Linked DNA regions of Homo sapiens: all the other regions are linked to region 2. The links are contacts of gene promoters, found by promoter capture Hi-C in blood cells and fetal thymus (Javierre and others, 2016). All regions are on one chromosome and are shown on one strand. Each heading gives the region's core, a stretch centred on a gene start or on the middle of the fragment in contact. The rest is flanking DNA. Distances are from core to core; before and after follow the strand shown.

Region 1 (5,504 bases), core at 721-3,220, 130 kb before region 2:
GGAAACAAAGACAGCACAACTCTTTTCTTCTCTAGCCCTGATGTGCTGATTTACTAAACCAGGAGTTTTCTTGCAGGGGCAACCTGTTTTCAAAACACACTGCAGACAGGTCTAGCTTAGCTGACCTGTGTGAACATCAATGGGGAGGGTAGAAGGAACAGGGTGATGGCATTCGGGGATCTCACCATTCTGACAAGACACAAGTCATTCAACAGCCAGAGGTTCTGAGGACAGCATTTCCACTCCCACGGGGTGCCCCTGTCTGGGCAGCCCAGGACAGCGTCCGGAATACCGCAGAGCTTGGCCCTGCGCCACGAGGGGGCGATGCCGTCTCTCTTTTGCTCCACGCACTGTAGTAGACGCCTTCAGAGCCTGAGGGCAAAGAAAAGAGGCTTACTCCAAGTCTGCAAAGGAGAGTCAAGTGAACTCTTTTTTTCCACACGGGAAAAGATGGATATGGTCTAAATGGGAGGGGCTGGGAGGACAGGAAATGCAAAGGGGGACAACCTTGGCTTTAATTTTACTGTATAACCACACTCTCTGGGCCGGTTTCCTGGTGCCTTCCCTTTCACCCTGTTTAGTGATCATTATACTGGTGGCACTGGATGCCCCAGAGGGTATCCCTCTTTTTCTCCTCTTACTTTTCTTCCTATTCAGAAGTCCCTTTTATCACGGAAATATTTGCCCTGTCTCCCACAGCACCACAAATCCAGAATCACCAACCCGAGGGTTTCAAGATTCTTTGCTCTATCCCCTCCCTTCTCTCAGACCTGTCCTTATTTCCTTTGGTCCTGCACAATTCTACTGTATCCCTGATTGTACCAGGGGCAATATTTGATGATAAAGGGCAGAGTAAATTGTAGAGCATTAGGTTCATGTGATGACAAAGCAAAGGGCAAAACTTCAGCAGATGGCAGGCCTTGATCACTGGAGACAAACATTCTGGGGCCTTTCTGGTTAGGGCAATGGAGAACCCATTCTAAGAGTTATGGCTGAGATTGTGTGAATTTAACTCACCCACCTGCAAATCAGAGACAGACTTGGCTACAGGAAGCCTCTGTTGCTAGGGGCAGAATTGGGGAGCTTTTGGGACCTTCTCTCTTGTGAGTTGTCCATGGCCTGGGCTTGCACTCCAAAAGCCTCCTGGCTAATTGAAATCCACTGGTACAGCTTGCATCAACAAAGACTCCAGGCTCCTACTCAGGAGTTCATTTTGCCCTTGGCCTACCTGTAAACCCATTAGAGTGGAGAGTGCAGAGGAATTTCTCTCCCCACTAGGTCCAGCAAACACATTTTCATGTCCTTGTAAACGATGAGGGAGTCTTCCATGGAAGACTGTAGGTAGAGCCATCACTGGCTTTCACAACATGGTTTAGTATTTTTGTTGTCAGTCTCTATAATCTGGCTATAATTCTATAATTCTGGCTCAGAATCTATCACTTACTAGCTCTGTGATAGGTGGCAAATTAACCCTTTTAAATCTCATTTTTATCATCTGTAGATGGAGATGATTATTATGAGAACTTAATGAGATAATCTATGTTAAAGTACTCGGCCCAATTGCTGGCACATAAATGGTTGTTATCATTATCTTGAAATGCAGTGGAGTATAAAGGCTAAGCCAGCTGACTCAAATCTGAGCTCTACCACTTACCGTCAGTGTGAGCTCAGGAAAACCATTTGATTTCTATATGCCTCAGTCTTCTCAGATGTAAAATGCAATTTATTTATTTGAGACAGGGCCTCTCTCCTGTTATCCAGGCTGGAGTGCAGTGGCACAATCATAGCTCACTGTAACCTTGAAGTCCTGGGCTCAGGTGATCCTCCTGCTTCAGCCTTCTGAGTAGCTAGGACTACAGGCATGTGCCACCATGCCCAGCTAATTAGAAAAAAAAAATCTGTAGAGACAAGGTCTGGCTGTGTTGCCCAGGTTGGTCTCAGGCTCCTGGCCTCAAGTGATCCTCCCACCCCAGCCTCCCAAAGCACGGGGATTATAGGCATGAGCCACCATGCCTGGCTAAAAATGAAGTTTAATAATCACAGCTATGTCACAGGGTACTTAGGACTGAATAGATAATGTATGCAGTGCACTGAAAACAGTTCTTGGCATATGCTGAGTACTCAAAGAAGGCTGGTCATCACTGCCTATAAAGCTGTGGTTTGGATTATCCAAAAGTTACCTGCATTTTGCTCTAGAATACTAAGATGCGTGTTTTAGTTAGCAGGAGAATTATTTTCTTATTTGACTTAGTTTGCAGTAAGGTGAATCTGTATTTGTTACTTGTACAACTGGTTAATGCTGGGGCTGGGGCTTAGAACATGGCTGAGGGAGACTGGTTAGAGATGCAAGATGTGCCACAGAGAGTCCAGAAAACAGATCACTTTGAGGCACTTGCATGGCATCTTTTCACTAGTGCTCCTGTATAGTTTATCTTTTACTACATATCAGTTTAGAAAGAAAGATTTTATTGTCAAACCAATTTTGCAGGTAGAAGAGTAGGTGAAAGAGACAGATTACGTGCCCTGCCCAAAGGTCACAAAAGCAGGATCTATATCCACATGGCAGTTGCATTTAAAAATAAAAATTAATCAAAGTAGCTTTTGGCTCTGCCTGACAGGACAAGTCATAGACAGTGTATTTAATGTGTCATTAGACGGTGTTGGCAGCCTTCGTCACAGCTGCAGTGAATCTGGGGTAACACCAGGAATACAGCACCTCTCTGATTATTTATTTTTAGAGTCTCCAACAAGAAAATTTTAAGAAAAGAAAAAAGAAATCATTGTGGGTAGGAATCAGGAGAGAGTAGTCAGGAAAAATCTGAAATTTTCCTAAAATTTGAAAAATATATATTATGAATTCTAGGTCCTGGGCCATTTAAGCCAGTCTCTAAATCATATGGTTATCTTATAGGAGGAGAATCTTGGACAATAAAAAGATCAGAATGAGGGTGATGTGCTATAAATCTTCCTAAAAAAGCAAGAAGAATTAATTTGGAGAAACAACCCATTAGGGTTGACAACTGTTTAAGTAAAACTGATGACATGAAACTGGAAAGAAAATAGTCCGCTAACTTCTTAAATGGGAAGATGATTCATTAGCAGTGAGGGTTAGGGGTGTCTGTAGTCCTTTTCTGATTATCTATGAAGTAGTAACCTGGATTAGCCAAAAAGAGATTTGCTTTTGACTCTGAAAAATGTCATGATATTTGTTTTGGCAGTAGATAAATTTTTGAACTAGACCTGTTAGCTCAATTGTAAATATTTCATTAGAGAGTGATGGGCATATGAATGCTACAGCTTCTTTTCATTCAACAAATATTTATTGAGTACCTACTACGTGCCAGGCACTGGGCTAGGAGCTGGAAATACAATGCTGAACTAGTTAGACATGGTCCTTGTCCTCCTGGAGATAGACACTGAAGAAATAATACACGTGAGCAATCATTATCATCTAATTAATAATCATCACAATGGGCCAGGCGTGGTGGCTCATGCCTGTAATCCCAGCACTTTGGGAGGCTGAGGTGGGCAGATCACCTGAGGTCAGGAGTTCAAGACCACCTTGGCCGACATGGTGAAACCCCTTCTCTACAAAATACAAAAATTAGCCAGGCATGACGGCCAGTGAATGTAATCCCAGCTACGTGGGAGGCTGAGGCAGGAGAATCACTTGAACCCAGGAGGCAGAGGTTGCAGTGAGCCAAGATCGTGCCATTGCACTCCAGCCTGGGCAACAGAGTGAGACTCTGTCTCAAAAAAAAAAAAAAAAAAAAAAGTCATCATCGTCATCACAATGAAGACATATACAGAGTGCTAAATATGGGTATAATGAAGAGTTGGCCTTGCCCAGGAGGTGAGAAATATGAAAGCCCTTTGAAAACTGTGAAGTGCTAACTAAGGCTTTGTCTGGATTCATCTGGATTGTGGTTAGTCTCTGAATGGGCACAAGATTGCTCCTGTGTAATGCCTGGGGTGCTGTTTCTGCCTGAACTTTCTCTCTTGAAGGAGGCCAATTTCTTTCTCAAAATTCTACCTGGTGAGTGGGAAAGGCCCAGGAGTGGGTGGGAATAGGTTGAGAAATGCTTCTATCAGTTGCTGGAGCACAGAGACCAGTTCATATTTATGAGTTCATCATCTATTTTGGTTGGAAATCTCACAAAAAAATAAGAAAGCACAACTTCTTGACCAAAATTATGAGCAGAAAGGTCTGCTACTGTCCATCACTCATACTTTCAGGAATTGACACAATGCATTTCTCATTCACCAGTTCTATGCTAACAGTTAGGCATATGCAGATGTGAACACCAACATTATTACAAAACTTGAAGATCCCTTTTAAAATAGTCATAACTTATTAAATGTACATTATAAGGCTGGCACCTTTATATACATCATTTCACTTCATCATTATTAAAGCCCTATAAAGTAACTCTTTTATTCCTGTTTTACAGATTTGGGAATGCAGTTAAATATATTATTCACTTGCTCAAGGTCATAATGCTAAGAAGTGGTAGAATCAAGATTTATATCCAGGCCCAAATTTGAAGTTTATAACTTGCATTTTTTCCATTACATGGTACGTGTCTTTTGGTTAGAGTTAGAGACAGCAGCTGGACTTCAAGAGTTTGGTAACATTACTTACTTTCTCTTACTAAAGAAATGGGGTTGGGGGGAGGAAAGAGTCTACAACTGAGCTTTAAATTGGGGATTAGTGGAAGCATATTTTATAACATTTTAAGTTCAATGTCTTTTATTGGGTTGGCCTTGAAATGAAAGTCTAGGAAATAAGATGTCTGCTCTGAGATGGGGGTGGAAGATCCTGTACTTTCACATGCCTGTTAAAATTAGAGATGAAATATAATCAGTTGATGGAGGGCTTGGATAAAATAAACTGAGACACATAACTGGCAAATATGAAAGTGCATGAAAGGGACCAAGACCCAGAAGATCGTAGAGAAAAGAGACGCATATCTCATTGCCAAGCTGGAGTTATTTCTGTTTAGAGACACCAAAGTTCTCCCTAAAACTTTTCCCTTAGTCTTGGTAATGTGAAACTCTGGGGGGGTCATTCCTACAAATTCTGCCCCCTTTGTGATCCCCTGTATAATTAGATCCATCCTTTTTAAGGAAGAGGACCTGGCAGATATGTTTCATGGTTTATACGTAATCCAGTTCCTTTCATGCTTCCTGCTGTAAACTTTTGCCTGTACATTGTATTTTTGAGACCCTACTGCAATCATTCCCAGGGTCGGAATGATCACAACCAGCTGACCAGACCAGTTAGCTGCTGTTTGGTTAACTGTTCAAGTAGATTGGAAGAAGAGGCAGTGAAAGAACTGGGCAGTGAGAGCAAGGTAAGGACATTGAGAAGATGCATGCCCAGGGATTTTGGTCTTCCGTCTTCCTTTAACTTGTATTGTCCACATGAGATTGTATTAGTGAGGGTTCTCCAGAGAAACAGAACCAATCTGATATATATATAGGCATATAAGAGATTTGTTATG
Region 2 (5,355 bases), core at 1,381-3,880:
CACCCTGTAGCCACTCAATAAACGTATTAAATGAATTTTAAAAAGGACATTCTAGGCAGAGGGAACATAAGAAGCCAAGATAAATGGGTGAGAAATGGTGAGATGCACATAAGTACATGTGAAATTGTGTAGCTTAAGTATTGAGTGTGTGAGTGGAAAAGTGGAAAAATGATAGCATAAGACTGTACAGGGTTTCACATGGCAAGTTAAGCAGTTTGGACTTTCTAAGTGGTAGGAAGCCAGTGAGGATAACTGCTAAAGCAGTGAGGTAAATTGCCATTGTGTTTGATAGCATTTATTCATGGCATGGGCAGCTTCCTTTGCCCCTCCTAATACACTTCCTGCCAAGAAGCAGATAATAATCTACAAAGTATTTTATATGCTATACGCCCAGTAAACTCACTGAGTATCTAATCTACAAATTTCTTTGGCTGAGATGGGGTATCCAAAGGGAGCCAACGTAGCTGGAAAAGTAACTACAGCCAGAGACCTTTCACATTATAAACTGAGCATCTGGTACATGGTAGCTATTTTAAGTTTCTCTGACCTTGCCTGAGCGTCAGCAGGAAGTCATACATGAAAAACCCTTCACCCTATTTCCTCTGCCTGGGCCCAGGAGGTCTGCCTCACCCCTATACCTCCTCAGATAGTTTCTCTTTTTCCCTCCCAATAAGATATCCTTCCTAATACTGCCTTTCTGGTTTTCCAAGGTGTTCCTTTCTTGTATCTGTGCTTTACCTCTTCCAGGTGGAATTCCTTGGACAGCAGTGAAGGAGTCAGCAGTCAAGCCTCTTGGCAGACTAGACCAAAGGGTCACATTCTTTGCCTGGAACTATTTTTATACTTCCTTGGGGACTTGCAAGGAATGAGTGACAGAGTGAGAAGATCAAGGGAGAAGTCTTCAGGGACTGAGTGTGGAAAACTTGCCCCAAATCCTGGAAGAATATGACATTTGTTTCTTTTTTTTTCTATTTCCATTTTCCTCTCATTTCCTCCCCTTCTACTCTTGCTCCCATTTCTTTTCTCCTTTGTAATGCACCTTTCTCTACTTTCTGCTTTCTCTTTTTCCCTCCTTCTTCTACTCTCATCCTTCCCCACTGCTCTTGTTGCTAGTAATGGCTACCTTTTATTCAGTTCTTATTTGCTGAACACTGTGTTAAGTGCTTTGCACGCATCATCTCATAGCACTCTATGAGTTAATAGTATGTCCATTTTGCAGGTGAGGAAAGTGGAACACAGATTGAATCATTTATCTAAGCCCAGCAGATGGTAATAGAAATTTGTCAAACCTCAGTAAGCTAACTCCTGCATCTGTCTTTTCTTAACCCTACATGGTCTTTTTCTCCATTTCCAACTCTCCCTTGTCCTTCCCTTTTCTTCTCTTCTTTTTATTCCTCCCCTTCTCTCCCTCCCTCTTTTTCTCAGACATTTACCATAGTTCAGTCACTGCACGTGTGTGGCTGACCCTGAAGGTGCTGAACACTGTACATGTGCCCAGAAGAGAGGACAGACAATTCAAACTCTTATCTAATCAGCCATTTTCCTTTTGAGCACATGCTCCACAATTTTCCACATTTGGAGGCTGAAAGAGGGGGCGCTTCGCCACCTAAGGAAATGGGGCAGATGTCTGATCACAAATGACAGGAAAGGCCTCAAGACCTGCATGGGTCTTTGATATAGAGAGGAGCAGAGATAAGATGCTTTCCGCTCACTCAGGAACTCCCTCATTCCCAGGGACACTGTATACTCTCAAGTTTGGGGACCTGGGGTCTGAGAGAATACAGGGCCAGGAGGTTGGTCCCTGTCAAGGCAACAATCAACTCAAGAGCTGAGGAAGCCTGGACTATGAAATGCACCACCCTGACCCCATCTTTCCCCATAAGCATGAAGAATGTTCAGACAGAAACCAGGAGCACGTTGGCAGCAAAGATATGACGGTCAAAGTTTGAATTTGACAAACCTCTAAGGACCCACCCAAATCTGAGGTTTATGATTCTAAGAAAGGAATATTTATGCTCCATTCCCTCCGAGACGTTTGTCATCCTGTTGGTTAGGAATGGTTAGAGGCTTAAACTGTAAGAACATTCGTTATTCACTAAGTAAGAATTCTGGAGGTAGGGAGCCTCAAGAGTTGCTTCAGAGGCCTCAGGGCACTGGTTGACATTTCTGAGATTCTCTGGACAGCTTTAGACATCTTGGTTCATACAACTCTGTCCACAGGCAGGAAGCGGTGGGGCTAAGTGAGGCTCACTCCTATTCACCGGGGGATGGGAGCACTGTGAGTAGTCTCCCTCCTGTTCACCAGGGGATGGGAGCACTGTGAGTGAGGTTCCCTCTTGTTCACAGGGGGATGGGAGCACTGTGAGTGAGGCTCTCTCCATTTACTGGGGGGTAGAAAAACCTTTTCTGGAGCATTCCCTCTACTTTAGATTCTCCCCATACCTCACCTACCAGAACTAACTGCAGAGGAGATTAAGAAAGTGATACCTGGCTTTTTCACCCTGCCAATGGGAGGCAGGCAAGAAACAGGGAATTGGTTTTCTATTGGGTAGGAAACAACAGTGCCTGTCAGCCCCTCCTTCATTCACTCAACTAAGATATATTAAACACCTACTCTGGGCCAGGCTCTGGTGATACAGAAGAAAAGACAGTCTCCATTTTCAAACAGTCCCTCCTGGGAGAACACAGACAGGCAGAGGATTACAACACAAGGCAGCAAGCACTGGGAGACGAGTAAGTGTCCCGGGGGCCATCACAGGAGCTGAAGAGGCTCAGCTTGAGGGAGGAGGGAGGGCTGGAGGAGGCAATGACTGGGTTAAGTTTTGAAAGGTAAATGGGATTCAGCTAGGGGTGAGGGGACATGTAGGGGTACAGAAGGAGGGCATTTGGGAAGACTTGGCATGGCTGGACAAAAGGAACTCATGTGGACAGGCAGGAACAGGCTGGAAAAGCAGACAAAGGCCAGATGAGGGAGGATTTTGTAAGGGACATAAAGTTTTGGGACATTTATTCTGGACATAAGGGTGGGCAGATCTGTGTGTGGGAACCTTATTTAAATGAGACACAGAAACTTAGCAGCAGGGCGAGCTGAGCTGTGTGGCTGGAATGGCTGTGTTGCACCGAGGCATGGGAGATCAACATTGCCTTACCAGCCAGGGGAAGTGAGCACTCATCTGTGATACTGTTAGCTGGTGTGACCAAAGCACACTTTTTGTTTGCCACCTCCCAACACAGCTGGTCCATGCTGGATGGTTCTGATTTTTGCAGAGTGCTTCCTGAGGGGCCAAATTTGCCAATCCCATCCTCACTCTTTCCTCCTCCACCTAGTTCTGCCCTCTGGAGCCATAAAAAAATTCCTTTTCCATCCAACAGCCATTTAAACATTTGGAACAGTTGTGGAATGATTTTCAGAATATCACACACCTCATATCATTTAATCCTCAGAATTCTCTGGTGTAGCTATTCCCATCCCCATTCGATAAATGAAGAAACAGACTCAGTGAGGTAAATGCCCAGAGTCACATTTGCAGACCCCAGTCTTGTGTTCTTTTTAATACTCGTGTTTCTCCAGGTGCGGTCCCTCACCGCCTGCATCAGAATTACTTGGGCTGCTTGTTGTAAATCCAGATTCCTGGGGGCCATCCCAGACCTCCTGAAGTAGAATTACTGGGGCAAGAGCAGAATCCATATTGTAACACACACCACGATTTCTAGATCCGTTAAAGTGTGGGAGCCATGCTCTAATTTTGCTAATATGGCTACTTTGAATCTTCTCTTTCTTTTTATTTTTGCTGGGAAAGGAGAGCGAGCTTTTCGTTGGTTGCTTTGACTTCTAAGTTGCATTTTCTTAAAGAACCCATTGGATGGATGGATCAGTGGAATCCCAGAACATGATAGACATTCCAGACCTTCACAGAACATCCTTCTTCTTTTCTCTCTTTCTCTCTCTCCCATTTGCAGAAGTTTTGGCATCTGTTCCCTGGCTGTGCCAAGATGGGCGATTGGAGCTTCCTGGGAAATTTCCTGGAGGAAGTACACAAGCACTCGACCGTGGTAGGCAAGGTCTGGCTCACTGTCCTCTTCATATTCCGTATGCTCGTGCTGGGCACAGCTGCTGAGTCTTCCTGGGGGGATGAGCAGGCTGATTTCCGGTGTGATACGATTCAGCCTGGCTGCCAGAATGTCTGCTACGACCAGGCTTTCCCCATCTCCCACATTCGCTACTGGGTGCTGCAGATCATCTTCGTCTCCACGCCCTCTCTGGTGTACATGGGCCACGCCATGCACACTGTGCGCATGCAGGAGAAGCGCAAGCTACGGGAGGCCGAGAGGGCCAAAGAGGTCCGGGGCTCTGGCTCTTACGAGTACCCGGTGGCAGAGAAGGCAGAACTGTCCTGCTGGGAGGAAGGGAATGGAAGGATTGCCCTCCAGGGCACTCTGCTCAACACCTATGTGTGCAGCATCCTGATCCGCACCACCATGGAGGTGGGCTTCATTGTGGGCCAGTACTTCATCTACGGAATCTTCCTGACCACCCTGCATGTCTGCCGCAGGAGTCCCTGTCCCCACCCGGTCAACTGTTACGTATCCCGGCCCACAGAGAAGAATGTCTTCATTGTCTTTATGCTGGCTGTGGCTGCACTGTCCCTCCTCCTTAGCCTGGCTGAACTCTACCACCTGGGCTGGAAGAAGATCAGACAGCGATTTGTCAAACCGCGGCAGCACATGGCTAAGTGCCAGCTTTCTGGCCCCTCTGTGGGCATAGTCCAGAGCTGCACACCACCCCCCGACTTTAATCAGTGCCTGGAGAATGGCCCTGGGGGAAAATTCTTCAATCCCTTCAGCAATAATATGGCCTCCCAACAAAACACAGACAACCTGGTCACCGAGCAAGTACGAGGTCAGGAGCAGACTCCTGGGGAAGGTTTCATCCAGGTTCGTTATGGCCAGAAGCCTGAGGTGCCCAATGGAGTCTCACCAGGTCACCGCCTTCCCCATGGCTATCATAGTGACAAGCGACGTCTTAGTAAGGCCAGCAGCAAGGCAAGGTCAGATGACCTATCAGTGTGACCCTCCTTTATGGGAGGATCAGGACCAGGTGGGAACAAAGGAGGCTCAGAGAGGAAAGACGTGTCCCTTCTGAACTGATGCTTTCTCACTGTCATCACTGCTTGGCTCCTTTGAGCCCCGGGTCTCAATGACGTTGCTCATTAATTCTAGAAACTATAACCAGGGCTCTGGGATAGTAAGAGAGGTGACAACCCACCCAGACTGCAGTTCCCTCCCCACCCTCTACCCAGTATACGAAGCCTTTCAGATTACTCATGAAACAGGGTAGAGGGAAAGAAGGGAAGC
Region 3 (5,565 bases), core at 1,178-3,677, 230 kb after region 2:
CTGACCAACATGGAGAAATCCCGTCTCTACTAAAAATACAAAATTAGCTGGGCGTGGTGGCACATGCCTGTAATCCCAGCTACTAGGGAGGCTGAGGCAGGAGAATCGCTTGAACCTGGGAGGTGGAGGTTGCAGTGAGCTGAGATCGCGCCACTGCACTGCAGCCTGGGCAACAAGAGAGAAACTCCATCTACAAAAAAAAAAAAAAAAAAAAGATCATCCAACAATTATTTGTCAAATGAGTAAAGACATGTAAAATAGTGTATATGTTTTGGATCTCATAGAATGTATATATAGATATACATATATCTAGTCTGAAAAGTATGCAATAAGCTATCAATATGGATTATTTCTTTTTTCTTTCTTTTTTTTTTTTTTTGTAGATGGAGTCTCATTCAGTCACCCAGGCTGGAGTGCAATGACACAGTCTTGACTCACTGCAACCTCCACCTCCCAGGTTCAAGCGATTCTCCTGCCTCAGCCTCCCAGGTAGCTGGGACTACAGGCGCATGCCACCATGCCCGGCTAATTTTTGTATTTTTAGTAGAGACAGGGTTTTGCCATGTTGGTCAGGCTGGTCTTGAACTCCTGACCTCAAGTGATCCACCCGCCTCAGCCTCCCAAAGTGCTGGGATTACAGGCATGAGCCACCACGCCTGGCCAATATGGGTTACTTCTGACATGTGGATCTTGGAGAATTTTATTTATTAAAAAATAATATAAATAATAACCACTTTATATGGACTGCTTACTATGTGCAGAGCACTGTGTTCATTGCCTTATGTGTATCGCATCTTATTTAAATTTCCCAAGAACTCTAGATGTTAGAACTATCATTGCTCTCTTTTAACAAATAAGAAAACTGAGGCACAGAAAAGTTAAATAAGACCACCCAGTGAGTATTAGAAGAACCAGAAAGTAAACATAGACAGTCTGCTGTGCTTTTAAGTGACTGAATATAGGGCATGGGTCAGTAACTATTAATATAGGGAATGGGTCAGTAACTATTTTATGTGCTTCCTCTCTTTCTAGTGCACCACACTTGGACTTTTTATATTATGCATTTCTTGTTAGAATTTTTAAACACTGGTTACTTTTGTAATCAGGAAAAAATATACTTAAAAATACCTAATATGGTTACTGGCACACAGTGAAGGTGGTGATAATGAGAAAGAGGAGGAGGAGGAGGATGACAGCTTACATTTGTTGACTTCTTCCTATGATCCAGATTTTGGCACAATGTACCAGGCACCTTACATGCTAGTTTAATTGAGGAGGCATTAGATAAATTATTATTGTTGTTATTATTCCTGTCACTATCAGGTGTTTCTTAGAGCCCCAGAGATAGGCTGGGGCTGTGTGGATCTGGGATGGAGCATGTCATCTCAAGTCTCTAGCCCAAGGGTTAGGAAGAAGTTGTTCCTAATACTTCCAGCCCTCCCTTGCAATTTCAGGTGGTCAGAATATGACTGGGTGGACCAGATGACTGCGGGCTTGAGTGACACAGAGTTCTAAATCTGGTTCCAGAATGTATTAGCTCTGTGGCCTTGCTGTAGTTCTTACGTTGTCACAGTTGGATATATTTATCCCATTTTCCCAATCCCACCTTGCCTAGCAGGGCAACAGGTATTCAAGACCACTGGGAAGGCCCTGCTGTCCCACTGGCAGGCCTCCCATAGCCTAAGAGCCTCTCATGAAACATTCATTTCCTTGGGTTAAAGCTCTGCCAGGGAGAGGTGACATATTAAGCCACTGACACCGTGGCAATTTAATTTCATGGAATCACAAGATGTTAGAGCTGGGAGTCACCTAGCATCTAAAGCCTCATTATTCTTGCATCTAAACCTATCTTTTCCTTTTTCCATCTACAGTGGGAGAGGTGTCCCTGCTCCTGTCTAAGCGAATCCTTCTCCTTGCACTGTGGATCCCACCTGCCATTATTCCCTCTCTTTCCCACACTGGCACCACTGCGCGCCTCTCTCCATCAGTATTTAAATAAGCTCATACACTCAGCTGTCTCTTAACTTCTCAGTCAAGCTTCTTTTTTTCTTTTTTTTTGAGACAGATTCTTGGTCTGTCGCCCAGGCTGGAGTGCAGTGGTGCAATGTCGGCTCACTGCAACCTCCCCCTCCTGATTCAAGTGGTTCTCCTGCCTCAACCTCCCAAGTAGCTGCGACTACAGGTGCCCGCCACCATGCCCAGCTAATTTTTTTGTATTTTTAGTAGAGATGAGGTTTCACCATGTTGGCCAGGCTGCTCTTGGACTCCTGACCTTATGATCTACCCGCCTCGGCCTCCCAAAGTGCTGGGGTTACAGGCATAAGCCACCACGTCCGGCCTCAGTCAAGCTTCTCTGAGATTTGCCTGTAAACTTTGAGGGGCAAATGGGAGAGCTCTGGGTATTTAGGACAAGCCTATGTTTAGGGGAGCCTGGGTCGCTTGGAGGAGGAAGAGTGAGTGACACAGAAGTTGGTTGAGAAATGAAGGAGGGAAAGTGGAAGCTTCCTGTGGACAATCTACTGTCTTCCTAATTTTACCTAAAACCAATACTAAGTTTTCACAACAATTAATAAATTATATTGGGTTTGGGTACCTGCTCTGAGTATGCTAGCTAAGTCCTGTGGGAGATACAGCCCAGTACCTACAACATAACTGCCTTTGATATGTTCACAGCTGCATCTGGATACTCAGTTACAGTATCAGCACAGGGCAGTGCATGATTAAGGCTAAACGAATGGTACAGGTTAGTGGTTCCCAAACAAGAAGCATCAGCAAGAGTCATTTGGGAACTTGTTAGCAAGGTAAATTCTCAGGCCGTGGCCCAGACCTACTGAATCAGAAACTCTGAGAGTCCTGGAAACCTGTGTTTTCAAATGCCCCCTGAGTGATTCTGATGCATGCTAGGGTTTGAGAACTGCTGGTACAGGCAATAAGAACCACTGTAGGCTGGAGTTTCAGGTCAGACTTATAGGGCATTTGGCACTTAAATTTGATTCTGATCAGTGGAGTAGAGCAAAGGGTAGAGAGTGATCAAGAAAGAGTAAACCAGATGAACAAATGTATAGATATTGGGTTGCATAAGCTAGAGAAAAGGTGGAGGGAGGGTGCTGAGTGGGGCAGAAAGAGGAGCGGCCTGGCCTGGTTGACGTGGAGATGCCTGCAGAGGATGATGGTGAGGGCAGGAAGCCTTGACTACTAGCTATCATCTGGGGAAATAGAAACCTCTTCTGTGTCTCTCCATAGAGAAGGCTCCACCTACCACATCTAAGTTCTTTCTTTCCTTTACCTTCACAGGCATTCTCTTCCAGTCTCTCATCTCCAGAGGTGAGGATCACCCCTCTCCTTTGACGTTCACAGCTCTGATCCAGGATGGCATTTCTTTTCCTGCCTCCCCCGTCAGTACTTCCTCCTTCTTCCTCTGAATCCACCCCCTCACTACTGCTGCAGATGAAAAATTATAAACCACTCTTGAAAAACTGTTCCTAGAGAGGATACACGATTTGAACAAGTTCCTATTCAAAGCGTCAGGGGAGCGACACCTGCCTCTTAAATTCTGACAGCGTATACCAGGGATTCATTAGGCAGGAACAGAGGATGGTTTTTGGAGTGGGCTTTCTACTGTGCCTCTACAGTTAAGTTACACAGGGACCTTGCAGAAGGCTCAATGTGTTATGATTGGAAGCAGCTCTCTGTGGGAAATCCCTTCCAAAGCCCAGAGGAATCCTTTAAGGTGGTGCAGACTTGTTTCCCAGTGGGATCTTCTCTGAAGACAGAGCCTCCAAATGCACGTTTAGGCTCTGATGTTTAGAGCACCTTATTCCCGAGAGGCAGCCTGGTGTTGTGGGATGTGCAGCAGGTGATGAATGTACTGGAGGAAGGGATTATTTTTTCTCCTAAAGGTTTTTATTGGAAGACCAAGGTGTTAAGCCTGAGCTCTTCTATTTGCTAGCCAGATGATTTTGCCTCATTGAGCTAACTTCTCTTGGTTGCCCTATCTGTAAAATGGGGCTAGTAAGGCCAACTTGCAGAGGCACTGTGAGGATCAAATGAGCGGTCAAAGTGCACTGTAAGTTACGCAGTCCTGCACAACCCTGCCGTTACTGCAATAGTCTCTAAGTTGGTCTGCCTGTTCCCCTGTCCTCTCCCTCCTCCATTAGACCTTGTCCAGTGCTGTGAACTGGTTTTCCCAAAATATGATTTTAATTAAATGGCAGGGTAATATTCAAGATATTATTAATATTTCCCACCTCTGCTTCATCTCCCAACATTCCTTTTCATCTTTCATCCTATATCCATCAGGTAATATGAGGGACAAAGCAAAGAGACAAGTGCTTGTGAATCCAGGGGTTCCAGCCCTTCACCACTTCCAGACCAGGAAAGATCTCGCAACCCTCACGAGGTGCTGTGGCTGGGGCCCTTGTGGAGCAGACCTACAGGATGAGGATGTCCCAGGGGCACGAGGGGGAAAGTGGTCAAGGACCAGCTCCCTTCCCCAGTGTCCGCTAAGCCCCCCAGAACTTGGTCTTCACCCTGAGCATGGGGGACTGGACCATCCATACTGAGGTGTTGCTTTCACCAGAGACTGGAGGGAAGGTTGGAAATAAAGTTCCATGTCAGTTCTTGGATATTTTAGTTTGAGGCTTGACATTTGAAAGGCTGTTACTGACCATGTTGCTTCTGTAATCAAAAGGCCTTAGCAACTCCTTACAGTCTTCAAATTCAAGTCCATATGTTATCCTGTCATCTTAGCTTCCTACAACCTAATCAGCCCGCCCTGCCCCAGCCAATCCATCAGATTTCCCAGTCTCTTCTTCCAGCCCTTTCCTGGCTCCGAAGCTCCAGCTGGGTCTATCCCACTCCCCACTAGGATCTCTGCCATGGAGTCCCACAGCTTCCTCAACTCATTATCTCCTCACCTCCTTTACTTCCTATAGTTCCTCTCACTGATAACAGCCTCACAAGAGACACACTTAGAGGAGCAGAACCTGGGAGCCATTCCAGTCCTCCCTCCACATTTCTCCCTACATCTAATCAATCCTAATATCCGGTAGAGCCTACTTACTCAATATTTCTGGATTCTGTTTCTTTCTCTGTATTCTCACCCCTACTGTTTTAGTTCTGGCTTCATTATTTTTCATTCTGACTTCGGCTCCTGCCTCTTTCCTTACCATCTCCTTGCCTCCCTCCTCCACGCTGCAGAGGTAGCAGAGTATAAGGGTTAAGAGTTTGGCCCAGGAGACAGAGCATCTTTCTGCTCCTTACTACTCAACTGACTTGGGGCAACAGTGCATGCATCTCTCTGGAGATGATAGACATTATTGTGAGGCTCGATGTTTAAATCACAGTTGGCCCTAAATAGTGTAAATAATGTAAGACAATGTTATTATTTATTATCTTTCTAAAATGCAAATGTAATATGTCCTTTCATATGAAATCTTTCAGTGATTGCCCTGTCCTCTGAATAAAGCCCAAATTTCACAGAATGTACTCAACGTGCCTTTATGATCTGATCTCTACCCGTCTAACTACCTCATTTCCCATCACTCTCCAGTGGCCTTTGTACTC
Region 4 (5,707 bases), core at 1,598-4,097, 250 kb after region 2:
CCTCAGCACAGAAGGCAATGGTGAGGAAGAGGCTAATTTTCCTTTGAAGAGGATTTTGAGAAAAGGTTGGCCCATCTAAAATATTTTACAATTCTCTGTTCCCAAACCCTGAATAATCCTTGGAGGTCACTCACTGTGCAGGAGGCTGAAGAAGGGTAACACTGTCAAAACTGCAGACACAGACCCTTCTGGCTCCACCTCTATCCTACCCTAGAGCTAGGTTAAAGAGAGACTCTGGAGAACTTACTCATACCCAGTGGGGTACTTCTACATTTCTCTAAAGTCAGGAGACACTTTCCCTTTGTGAATATTTATACTTCTGAAGACATTTGCAAATCTTTAAACTCTTGGTTAAACAATAGTTTATACTGTCCCCCTATAATTCAGAAAAGCATAACTTCAAAAGAATGATGACAAACTTGGCCGGGTGTGGTGGCTGATGCCTGTAATCCCAGCACTTTGGGAGGCCGAGGCGGGCGGATCACCTGAGGTCAGGAGTTTGAGATTAGCCTACCCAACATGGCGAAACCCCGTCTCTACTAAACATATAAAAAATTAGCCAGGCATGGTGGCGGGCACCTGTAATCCCAGCTACTGGGGAGGCTGTGGCAGGAGAATCACTTGAACCTGGGAGGTGGAGCTTGCAGTTAGCCGAGATAACGCCACTGCACTCCAGCCTGGGCGACAAGAGTGAAACTCCGTCTCAAAAAAAAAAAAAAAAAGACAAACTCAATGAAACACATAGAACAATCAAGGTGTACAGAGATGTAGACAGTGGTAGTGAACAATTCTCTACCCAAAGCTGAAGGAGAGTCATTGCCCACCATAAGTCAATCCAAATCTGAGAAAATTACAACTTAACCCCTTTACTTTAAGGGTTGCCCATGAATAGTCATAGCTAGTTATGTCAAATCCTTAAATGCTGGAGTCCGTGTTTACATCTTTACCCATATCCTTTCATCTATTTCATTTCATACCAAAATGAACAGACCCATTACATGTTTAGATTTTCTAGGCTTGTCCACATCTCCCATATAAAAGATGTAATGTGTATAAAGTGCTTAATACAATGTCTGCTGCATAGTAAGCACTCCATAAATGTTAACTCTGACATACATATATATTAAATCTATACTAGCTAGATTGCTTGAATTATTTTTTGTGCATGTGGCTGTATTGATGCCTGCTTAGGTAATAGCCATCTTCATTATTCAATATGATTCTGGTTTCCTCTGAAGTTTAGTGAGGTGTGGTTTTTCTGTGATGTTCTCCTCCACTAGTTTTCAAGCTCATCTTGGAAGGTCTTTTACAACCTCGATAACGCCCTGCAGTTATTAGTATCAAGAATGCTCTGTACACTGTGGGCACCCAGCACATGCTGCTGGCTGGCTGACTGATTTACTATGCCTCCCCCTTGCCCATTATAAGCTTTCATCACTGCAAATGTAAGAACCTTCTTTTCTACATCTCCTGCCATCCAGAACAGTCTTCATAGATCTCCCTGCCTCATTGACTCATCACCTCATTTCACCCTTTCTTCCTTTTTCTGGACCTTCTAACTTTTTCTCCCCAGATTACCATTTTTTTTTTCACTCAGCATGCACACATTATCTAGTTTTGGAAAATACTCCCTATTTGCTCCTATATCTTAATTTGGCTGTCCCCATTTCTATGCTGCCTACTAGTATAAATGAGACAATAGCTCAAAGAACAATTTGTAAAAAATGAAAAACTCTGTGCAGACTTTCAGGGAAATTAAACACATACTTTAGACCAGGAGCTCAATCTATGGGTAAGAAAGCTTCCTTAGCTGTCTTCTCTATGAAGCTGTGATTGGGTGAATGTTTTTAAAGGAACTCTCTGAATATGAAAGGGGGTTGGGGTGGGATGAAGCCTTGGCCATCTGGATGAGAAAGATTCAGATGCTGAAACAGATCTCTGGAGTTAATGAATTTCACAGTCCTTTGCCCTTACTTTGCTTGTCTCAGTCTAGAAACAGACACCTGGTGTAAGCTTGTTAAATGGCAGGAATAAGTAAGAAGTGAAAAAGAGCTAAAGCAAACTTCTTTGCAAACTGCTCTCCTTGTGAAACTAAGCAGGTAGTTCTATGAGTGACGGTAACTCACATAGCCTCTTGGCTTTGTGTTGAACATAGCACCAAAGTTCACAAGCATTTACACACCTGCAGTTTTTTTTCTTTTTTTGTAGATCAGGTCTGGCCTAATTACAGGATTTCATTGTATTTTTATACATATAATAATCTAGTTTCCCCTGTAAATGATTCATTTACAATTCAATTAAACAGCCAAGGAGAACCAAATGTTAAACATGTTTTTAAATAAGATACAATGTGTGTAATTAGACAGAACACATACCCCTATCTTAGTGTTTGATTTGCGTGATAATACAAAATAGGTCATTTGAGGCTATGCCAAATATCAGGGATTAGATGACCTTTAAGTTCCTGTCAAGCTGGAGAGTCTATGATTTTGTGATCTGAGTGAAAAATGAAAAATTTAGTGCATCATCGAAATGTTTACAAGAATCCAGCTGTTTGATGTCAGGTAGACAAAACACCCAGACAACTGACAGAGATGCTTCATTTTCATCCAGATGTTTTTGCATTGCATTGATTTAGCCTGACACACAGCAAAGTTAAGTCACTTACTCAAGATTTCTGACAAAACCTTCTGAATATACTGGCAATAAAGTTGTTGAGAGATTTGCCATTTTAGTATCAGTGGCACGAATGTTTTGCTACTGCTCCATCGACAGCTTCTGAATCCATAAGATTTGAAAATAGTCAATTCAGTTCTCTCCACTCTGCAGCTCTGTGCTCTCCTCACTGTCTCCATTCCCCACACCCCCAAAGGTCTATCTTAACCTGAGCTCTGACCCATGACAAAGTGGTCTCCTCGATCACAGGGCTGTGTATGTGGCCTTTGTCATGGAAGCTGCTTCTGTTCACAGTGATCACTGTGTCTTGGGGACATTGCTGTCTGGGCCAAGGGCTGGCCAAATCAGAATTTCTGGCCATCCTAAAGGTTGATTGCAGCAGGCAGTCATAGCCACCATTCATCCTCCCATTATCATGGTCAATAATACCACTCATCTAGGCTTGGCTGTGATTCAGGGACCTGGCTGAGGTGACTGATGCTGACCAAAAGTCATTTTTTTTTTTTGAGATGGAGTCTCGCTCTGTCACCCAGGCTGGGGTGCAGTGGTATGATCTCGGCTCACTGCAAGCTCCGCCTCCCGGGTTCACACCATTCTCCTGCCTCAGCCTCCCGACTAGCTGGGACTACAGACACCCGACACCACGCCAGGCTAATTTTTTGTATTATTAGTAGAGACGGGGTTTCACTGTGTTAGCCAGGATGGTTTTGATCTCCTGACCTCGTGATCCACCTGCCTCAGCCTCCCAAAGTGCTGGGATTACAGGCATGAGCCACTGCACCCGGCCCTGACCAAAAGTCTTATCCACACACCTGTAAATCTAAACACTGACCTTGGGTTTGCAGCTGTAGCTACTATATGGAGAGCCATATGTGGTTTGCACATCAGTCTCTTTGACTCAGCTTCTTCTGGTTGCCTTGACTCCCATTGAATCCCCCAGTGCCTGATTGCTGCCCATCCCAGGCCCATCTGGTAACCCTCATGCTCCAAATGTTGCAAGCTTGACCACTTAGTTTGAAATTGTGCTTCAAAGGCATCTTCCTCTGTGATCCTTCCCGGCTTCTTTTCCCCAGGCACCCTGCAGCCTCACTTTCTTTATCACTGCCTCTTTCTGGCTCTCTGCACAGGCCCCGTTGCTGCCAGTCAAGCCCTGCCTGAATCTGGATAGTATGGCCTTGCATGCCCAGAGGGCTTTTGCTCCACCAAATCCCCTATGCGACCTTGAGCAAATCACAACACTTCCCTGGGCCCCACTGTCCTAATCTTAACATGAGAATGTTGGACTAAATCAGGTCTGAGGTCCCCTCCAGTTCTAAAATTGTATTATCTCTCTAATACTGTGAGACTGGCTGCCTTCCAAGGTGCCACTGCTCATCATTCTGTCTAGTTGTTATGCAAGGATTTCGGGAGGAAAAAAACATAAGGCTCCAGGAGTAATATCTTGAAAAATTATGAAATATGTCTGCTACCTTTCTCATCTTCATGAGCCCCTTGTTTTACTTTTGTGTTGAATTTAAAACTCAGAGACTTAAACTCACACATTATGACAGTTCTGTCACTTCCTTAAATTACGCAGTAAAAACACACAAAGGTGCAGGTAAGTTTAGCACCTTGAGTGTTTTGTAAGCAATGCTGTGTTGGGCTGAGGATGGGGGTGTGTGGTAGAAAGAGGTGCTGCAACAGAAGCCAGAAGGGAAGAAGAGCCTATAGGGGAGAGAGACATTAAGGGCCTGAGGGAAGGGAAGGTGCCTGAGCTCAGGGACTGTAAAGGAGGACTGTTCACCTTGAATGTCCAATCAGCACTTTCTCTGGAATTTAGATAATGTTAATTCCACATGTGAACATATTGCCTAAAAAAAAGAAAATAAATTTAGCGTATAAACAGTCCTTGGATGCTTCCAGTGGTTAGATTTTTCAGATAAACAATCTCCTATGGTATTAAGAGCTTGTCCTTCTCTGGCAAGGATGGTCCAGGACAGATAACATTGAGTGCTTTCCTCTAACATATTTATATTGGTTACATCAGGTTAATGAACACCCAAGGCATTTTTCAAGAAGTCACAAAGGGGGTGAGTCTGAGGAGCAGGTGTTGAAGTAGAAAGGAAGGCCCGTCTACACACTCTTTATGTGAGTGAATCAGAGGTTTTTGCTGTTGCAATTGTGGTTGTTTTTATAAGTTGAAACCACTAGCTGATACAGTGATTGACTTTCCCAAATATCCCTGGTGATGATTAAAAAAAAAAATCACTGAGATTATCCCCGATTTGGGCCTCTAAACTCAGGGATGGTTCTGGATAAGCAACCCTGTATCCAAGTGTGTCTTAGGTGATGCTGGTTGAGAATGGGACACCCATTCTCTGGGAGCCAGCCAGAGAAGTTACCCTGCTGTTGGAGAGACGGGCTATCACTGAGGAAACAGTGCATCACCAGGGAGGATCGAATTCATGCTCCTCCTCCCCCAACAACTCTCATACCCTCACAGATACTCCTTGTTTCTCCTTGTCTCCCTTTTCTCATACCCACATCAGCTTCCCTCACTCAGTAATCAACTCATTGAGGGTTTGCTTTAAAAATGTATCAACATCGTAATCTTCTCCAAATTAGCTTCTCTATGGCCAGGAGAACCTTAGGTTAGGATGTCCTTCTCTCGTAAAGTTTCTGTAGCAAGTGAAAGCAAGAGGGACCATTGGGGTGGTAGGGCAAGACACTAATCCTCAGTGAAAAGTCTAATCCTCAGTCACTAAGTGTCCTGGCAGATTAGAGGGTAAAGTGAGTGGGGAGAATCAGCTTAAAGAACCAAATTGGATTGGGCCAGAGCAGAGGTATAGGTATGGAAGAGTGGTTTTGTCAGTAGCTGCTGATTGAGCCAAGTTCAGCATGGAACTGACAGAGATGATATGGAAGACAACTTACCTAAGTAGCTCCTGGGTCAGAAAGAAGCCTCAAAGTGAGAGAACCTGGGGGGAATCTCAGCTGGAGTCCCCTTATGGGACTTTGATACATCAAGATCTCTTGGCTATTGAGGAGATAG

The links. The method cuts DNA at HindIII sites, captures the fragments that hold promoters and counts their contacts. A CHiCAGO score of 5 or more calls a contact.
Region 1: a fragment that was not itself captured here is called in contact with the fragment with the promoter of GJA5 in region 2 in 4 of 17 cell types (megakaryocytes, endothelial precursors, naive B cells and 1 more); the score reaches 7.9 in megakaryocytes.
Region 3: a fragment that was not itself captured here is called in contact with the fragment with the promoter of GJA5 in region 2 in 1 of 17 cell types (total B cells); the score reaches 5.7 in total B cells.
Region 4: a fragment that was not itself captured here is called in contact with the fragment with the promoter of GJA5 in region 2 in 4 of 17 cell types (total CD8 T cells, total B cells, total CD4 T cells and 1 more); the score reaches 6.6 in total CD8 T cells.

What each region holds. Positions count from the first base shown.
Region 1 is chr1:147,885,200-147,890,703 of GRCh38, reverse strand. No RefSeq gene overlaps it. Among named protein-coding and RNA genes, the nearest start is that of GJA8, 15 kb to the left of the region's middle. The HindIII fragment of the contact is 7,221 bases long and covers 1-5,504 here.
Region 2 is chr1:147,757,877-147,763,231 of GRCh38, reverse strand. GJA5 (gap junction protein alpha 5) reads left to right here and starts at 2,630. Exons shown (of 2, transcript NM_181703.4): 1 at 2,630-2,733; 2 at 3,961-5,355. The coding sequence starts at 3,994. The coding sequence ends at 5,070. All of the region lies in intron 1 of LOC102723321 (a long non-coding RNA gene), which reads right to left. RefSeq lists a silencer at 4,557-4,851. The HindIII fragment of the contact is 9,872 bases long and covers 1-5,355 here.
Region 3 is chr1:147,525,995-147,531,559 of GRCh38, reverse strand. No RefSeq gene overlaps it. Among named protein-coding and RNA genes, the nearest start is that of LINC00624, 11 kb to the right of the region's middle. The HindIII fragment of the contact is 153 bases long and covers 2,351-2,503 here.
Region 4 is chr1:147,508,296-147,514,002 of GRCh38, reverse strand. The region is part of intron 3 of LINC00624 (long intergenic non-protein coding RNA 624); the gene reads left to right. Among named protein-coding and RNA genes, the nearest start is that of LINC00624, 6.7 kb to the left of the region's middle. RefSeq lists an enhancer at 3,284-3,942. The HindIII fragment of the contact is 1,663 bases long and covers 2,016-3,678 here.